2 separate regions of the Homo sapiens genome follow, and region 1 is linked to region 2. The links are contacts of gene promoters, found by promoter capture Hi-C in blood cells and fetal thymus (Javierre and others, 2016). All regions are on one chromosome and are shown on one strand. The core of a region is centred on a gene start or on the middle of the fragment in contact, and the rest is flanking DNA. Distances in the headings are between cores, read along the strand shown.

The links. Contacts are between HindIII fragments. The CHiCAGO score rates a contact against its expected background, and 5 or more counts as called.
Region 1: a contact is called between a fragment that was not itself captured here and the fragment with the promoter of NOLC1 in region 2, in 7 of 17 cell types (M1 macrophages, megakaryocytes, endothelial precursors and 4 more). The highest score is 9.9, in M1 macrophages.

Annotation. Positions count from the first base shown.
Region 1 is chr10:102,382,583-102,385,822 of GRCh38, forward strand. It overlaps GBF1 (golgi brefeldin A resistant guanine nucleotide exchange factor 1), which reads left to right. Exons shown (of 40, transcript NM_001377137.1): 40 at 1-314. Among named protein-coding and RNA genes, the nearest start is that of NFKB2, 12 kb to the right of the region's middle. The HindIII fragment of the contact is 794 bases long and covers 1,561-2,354 here.
Region 2 is chr10:102,150,841-102,154,107 of GRCh38, forward strand. NOLC1 (nucleolar and coiled-body phosphoprotein 1) reads left to right here and starts at 1,549. Exons shown (of 13, transcript NM_004741.5): 1 at 1,549-1,690. The coding sequence starts at 1,571. RefSeq lists enhancers at 1,035-2,234, 1,140-1,439, 1,610-1,659. The HindIII fragment of the contact is 8,659 bases long and covers 1-3,267 here.

The DNA of each region.
Region 1 (3,240 bases), core at 708-3,207, 230 kb after region 2:
TGCAGCCTCTGCCTCCAGCCCGGCAGCTCTGGGGAGGCATCCGTGTGCCGGCCCTGCAGTGCCTGCCCACGGTCAGGCATTGAAAACTAAGCCCAACCACTCTGCACTTTGTTTCCCACTCCCATTAGCCCTGGGCCACCTCCTCCAGTTCTTCCTCTTTTACTAATTAGTTGGTCAGTTTGGAGAGTTGACTGGCACCATGGAGGGTAGGCAGGTGGGGGCTGGGTGGGGGACTGCCCACAGGAGCATGTACATATGGAAAAACAGAACAACAGTGGACTTTTTATGATATAATAAATGTCTTAGTACCAGCATCATTGTCTCTCCCTCCGGTTTCCTTCTTGAGCTTGTGGGTCAGGGCACCATGTTATCGGGTGCGCAGGGCTTGGACTTGGTGTGAGCAGAGGCTGAGCCTACCTAACACCACCACCCCCCTCCCCCACCCCGCCAGATGCTAGGCCGGGGGTCAGGATTCCTTCACTGCTGCTGACCCCTGCCCTGCCACAGGGTGTACCCTTGTCATCACAGGTGTGCCCAGGGGCTTGGGCAGTGGCTCGGGCAGTTGTCGTAATCTTCCCTAACAACTGTAACAAGGGAGACACGTGAGACAACCTGGCCTAGGTGAGAGGGAAGAGGAGTGAGGGCTGAGTTGTAGTTATTCAGAAGTCTTCTCTCAGATGTGTCTCACCATCCAAGAGACCAAAACAGCTGTTGGGGTTTCAGAGGAGCCCAAGAGTTCGAGGCTGCAGTGAGCTATGATTGTGCCACTGCACTGGAGCCCCCCTCTGTCACCCAGCCTGGAGTGCAGTGGCACAATCATAGCTCACTGCAGCCTCAAACTCTTGGGTTCAAGCAGTCCTCTCACATCAGCCTCCCAAGTATCTGAGACTAAGGTGTGCACCACCACACTTGGCTAATTTTTTGTGTAATTTTTATAAAGACAGGGTCTCACTATGTTGCCCAGACTGGTCTGGAACTCCTGGGCTAAAATGATCTTCCTGCCTAGGCCTCCCAAAGTGCTGAGATTACAGGCATGAGCCACTGCACCCAGCCCTGGGAAGGGTATCTTGCCCACAGCTGCAGTCATGGGTTTGGAGCCCAGGGCATTCATTTTGACCCCAAACTGAAAAGGGGTAACTTTTCCCAGCCCCACAAACCTCAAACCTCACTCACTGCAGCATGATTAGAGGACCCCTCTTCTCCTTTCCCTTGGCATCAGGGTAAGACAGGTGGGAAGTGTGTATGGGGCAGGCTGTGTGGCCCCTGCAGGGTGGAGGTGCTATGGGTGTGTGATACTGTGAAATAGATATTTGGTCTTCACCCCGTTTCCTGGCATAACTCTTAAAATCCTTAGAATCTCCAAAGTGATGTCCTTTAATATATGATTGACTGATAGCTGGCAGCCCCTATGTAGCTGCTGGATGGGGGCTGGTCACCAAAGCAGAATTAAAGGGTTGGGACTTTCAGGCTCAGCCCCCAACCTCCAGGGAGGGAAGAGGGACTGAAGGTTAAGTTGATCACCACTGTCCAATGGTTTAATCAACCGTGCCTATGTAAGGAAGCTTCTCTAAGAACCCAAAAGGGCAGGGTTTGGTGAGCTTCCAGAGAGCTGAACATGTAGGCTTACAGGAAGCCAAACGAGTGCATCCTTGTGCCCAGAGGGTGGCGCACCACAACTCCACGGGGACATCACTCCCGGGCTCTGGACCCTTTCAGACCTCACCCTATGTATGTCTTCATGGCTGGTTATTTGTATCCTTTATAATATTCCCTGTAGTAAACTGGTAAGTGTGTTTCCTTGAGTTCTGTGAGCTACTCTAGCAAACTAGTTGAACCCAAACCCAAGAAGGGGGTCATGCGAAGCCCAATTTATAGCTGGTCAGTAAGAAATACAGGAAAAACCACCTGAAACTTAACAATTGGCATCAGAAGTGGAGGCAATGACCGGGCACCATGGCACACACCTGTAATCCCAGCACTTTCAGAGGCGAGGCAGAAGGATCCCTTGAGGCCAAGAGTTCAAGACCAACCTGGGCAACATAGCGAGACCCTGTCTCTATTTAAAAAAAAAAAAAAAGCATTTTTGTAAAGAAGTAGAGTACAGTCCTGGGGAATGAGCCCTCAACCTATGGGACCTGGCACTATTTCCAATTAGATAGTGTCAGAATTGAATTGGAGGCCACCCAGCTGGTGTCTACTATAGAGCTGATTGCTTGCCTGGTGTGTGGGGGTTTTCCCACACACACACATTTGGTCACAGAAGTCTTCTGTGTTGATTGTTTTTGAGTGAGAAAATAGAAACACTTTGAAGGTGTTTTCCCCTCTCATGGTGGGATACAAAATGCTGGGTATTAAGCTTTCCCAAGTGAAGCATCCACATCATCTTGGTTTCCACCTCCGCAATGGTGCCTTCCCTTCCCTGGGGCACAGAGAACAGTGTGGCCCTGTTGTACTTCCAGCTGGCCTCCATCACAGAGAGTTAGGGGCACTCACCCCCTGCACTGGGGCCCAGCTGGCAGTATGATTCTCCAGCACCAGGCTTCCCTTTGCTCAGCACATGCACATGGCTGGGCATTTGGACCTCTGCAACGCCTCCCTCAGTGTAGAAAAAGGCACCTCAGAGTGGGAACAACCTGAAGTGGAAAAATACTGATATGAAACCGGAAGCTCTTAGGCTAATTTCTCCCTCTTCCCTTCCTTCTTCCTGAAGTCCAGGCCATGCCTGGTTTGCATACTAACCAGAAGTCTTGCCCAACCCTGCCCCTGGGAAAATTAGGAGGGGCAGAAAGCTCTATGTGTGTGCAGAAAAGCCTGGATCTACAGCCAGCTAGATACTGGGGCATTTGGCTTCAACTGTGGTGTCTCTGTTCTCCCATCTGAGCCCCACAAGCTCTGCCTTTAGAAGCTTCCATGTGTTTCCCTATGGGAGAAATAGTGTTAACTGCTGCAAATAAGTCTGAAGGCCATCCTATGAACAAAGAAATAGGACAGCTCTAATGTTCCTTATAAAACCAATCTCAAAAATTAGGAAAGAAGTGGGAACAGGAGTGGGGTGGGGTGCGGTGGCTCACGCCTGTAATCCCAGCACTTTGGGAGACTGAGGCAGGAGGATCGCTTGCCCAGGAGTTCAAGACCATGTATCTGTGGCCTAGCTACTTGGGAAGCTGAGGCAGGAGGAGTGCTTGAGCCTGGGAGGTTGAGGCTGCAGTGAGCTATGATGGTGCCGCTGTACTCCAGCCT
Region 2 (3,267 bases), core at 299-2,798:
ATGGAGTCTTGTTCTGTCTCCCAGGCTGGAGTGCAGTGGCACGATTTTGGCTTACTGCAACCTCTGCCTCCCGGGTTCAAGTGATTCTCCTGCCTCAGCTTCCTGAGTAGCTGGGATTACAGGCACCCGCCACCATGCCTGGCTAATTTTTTTTGTATTTTTAGTAGAGACAGGGTTTCACCATGTTGGCCAGGGCTGTTCTTGAACTCCTGACCTCAGGTGATCCACCCACCTTAGCCTCCCAAAGTGCTGAGATTACAGGCATGAACCACCGTGCCCAGCTTTGTTTTTGATTTTTGAGATAGGATCTCACTCTGTGGCCCAGGCTGGATTGCAGTGGCAGGATCATAGCTCATTGCAGCTTTGACCTCCCTGGCTCAGTTGATCCTCCTGCCCCAGCCTCCCAAGTAGCTGGGACCACAGGTGCATGCCACTACACCTGGCTAATTTTAAAAATTTTTTGTAGAGATAGGGGGGTTTCACTGTGTTGTCCAGGCTGGCCTCTTAACTCCTGGGCTCAAGGGATCCTCCCACCTAGGCCTTCCAAAGTGTTGAGATAACAGTTGTGAGCCACTATGCCTGGCCAATTTTATATAGGAGAGGGGGGTGTGTTCCCATGAGGATCCTTATCTTTCCTGAGCGGCATTAGTGGGAGGTAGCCAAGGGGTAGTGGGTAGGATTGAAGGGATTGCTAACTGCTAATATCTGGAATGTGGCAGAACTTGGAATTAACTTGGTAGGTCTGAGCATTGATACTGGAGTTACTCATGACAAAGGCATTGATACTGGAGTTACTCATGACAAAGGCAGAGTGTGAACTCTGATCCCGGAGGAAGAAGGGTTATTTTCAACAATCTCTTCAGCTTGAATAGATTGTTGCTGTGTGTGATTCAGGTTTGGTGCATGACACCTTTCCTCTTCATGGAGCTGACCTAAGGCGGAATATAAGGGAGATGGGAGGGGCAGCTTGGGAAATCAACACCTCCCACCCTCACGACGGATAACCCGAAGGATCTTCTGCAGCAGAGGCAGGAGTCTGGAGGCTGGGATGGTATCAGAAAGGGCCTCCCTGGGTATTGGAGGCAGTGAAGATGAAGGGCGAGAATCCATTGGCCGTGCCAGTACGCCATGGGGGCGGTTGGGAGATCTTGTAGAACAACTGTTCGAGCCCGCTTGTCCACTCATTACTCTGGAATCCGAGTCCCAGCAGGGGCGCGGGAAACCGCTGCTCTGAGAAAAGGTACCTCCCCCAGAAAGACTGCGCGGGAAGTCCCGAGTTTTCCCGCCACGCCGAGGGCGTGATCCCTGACGTCAGAGCTCCGCCTCCACAAGCTGGCGGCCGGTGGGCTCCGCCCTTAACCAAGATGGCGATACGCGTGGGACCGGAAAGAGTTTATAGATTTCCCGTCTACCCTACCTCTGAGGTGAAGGTGGGACTGCCCTGTGGAGCCCACCCTTTCCGTTATGCGCCCGCGCGGCGCAATGACGTAACACAGGCCCGCCCACTGCCCCTGTTGGGTTCCTGAGTCGTGCTGCGTCGACAACGGTAGTGACGCGTATTGCCTGGAGGATGGCGGACGCCGGCATTCGCCGCGTGGTTCCCAGCGACCTGTATCCCCTCGTGCTCGGCTTCCTGCGCGATAACCAACTCTCAGAGGTGGCCAATAAGTTCGCCAAAGCGACAGGAGCTGTGAGTTCCGGGCTTGGGGCGGGGACCGGGCTGAGATGACCACAAGGCTTCAGGCCCTGACGTGCTTAGGTTTCCAGGTGGGGAAGTCTGGGGGTCCGCCAGTCCAGTGTCTGCAAGGCCTTTACGCCGACCCCTCGGCAGTGACCAGAGAAAGCCTGCGGCCTCGGTCGCTTACCTTCCTCCATGTCTGAGTAGATATCGCTGAGTCTTGTTGCTTTTTTCTTGTGACCTGTGCAGCGGCGGCAGCGTGGGAGCCTCGTGGCCCCAAGCCACATGGCTGGCAGAGTGCAGCGGGGAGGTAGAGTCTTGTTCCACTGAGGACGTTGGTTCTTCGGCATCTTCTGGGGGGCTTTTCGTTGGGTGAGGCAAACCGTGATTTGACCTTAGCCTCAGTCACATTTACTGGGATTCAAAAGCAAGTGAAATTTCTTTAGAATGAAGTCTGGGATTTTCGTTTGTAAAGAAGAAAATGAATGAAAGTAGAAGCAGAGTTTTGTTTTGAGTTACACTGAGAATTGAGAGTCATCAACAGCCCTACCAAGTAGGCATAGTAGTGGGCTTGGAGCTTTGGCTAATTGAATCAAACAAACCTAGGTTTGGGACCAGGCTCTGCCACTTTTTAGATACGTGACCCGGGCAGTTTATTTAACCTTTCTGAGTCTTTCTACAGGGATGTCATCATCCACTTTATAGGATTTTTGTGAGTTTCAGTAAGATGATGTGTAAGAGTAGCAATCTCAGTGCTGGTACAGAGGAATCTTGTAAAAGTGAAAGCTGTACCATAGTTATGGCAATTTAGGATGCTCCAAACACATGTAAGAGTAAGAGAACCAGGAATGTGAAAGGTTTGTAATCTACATCAACGGACATTCCTGCATGGGAAGACACTTTGAGAGAGGAGAGAGGGGGGGTCTTCAGCAGGGATGATAGCATGACTAGGAAGGATGGCTTGCACTTTTAGCAGAATCAGGCTGCGAAAGCAAAGAATCAGATCAGCCTCAAAACTTCCTTAAGCTGGGACAGGCTGCCATGTGATCTAACTGCTTTCTTAATGAAACTGTTTAGAGTTGACTGTTAAGGAGACTGCGGAGAGTGCTTTCACAGTGGACTGGATGGAATTGGACATTTCAGAATTAGGATTCTTTTTTTTTTTTTTTTTTTTTTGAGACGGAGTCTCTGTTGCCCAGGCTGGAGTGCAATGGTGCGATCTCGGCTCATTGTAACCTCCGCCTCCCAAGTTCAAGTGATTATCCTGCCTCAGCCTCCCCAGTAGCTGGGATTACAGGCGCGTACCACCACGCCCGGCTAATTTTTGTATTTTTAGTAGAGATGAGGTTTCACCATGTTGGCCAGGCTGGTCTTGAACTCCTGACCTCAAGAAATCCACTTGCCTCAGCCTCTCAAAGTGCTGGGATTACAGGCGCGAGCCACCGTGCCCGGCCTCAGGATTAGGATTCTGAAATGGTTTTATGTGAGAAAAGCTAATCTTTGTGAAGAGCTAACTAAGGGTCAGATGCTACGCCCTTCACATGCATTTAATTTTTTTTTTTTTTTTTTTTGAGGCGGAGTCTGGCTCT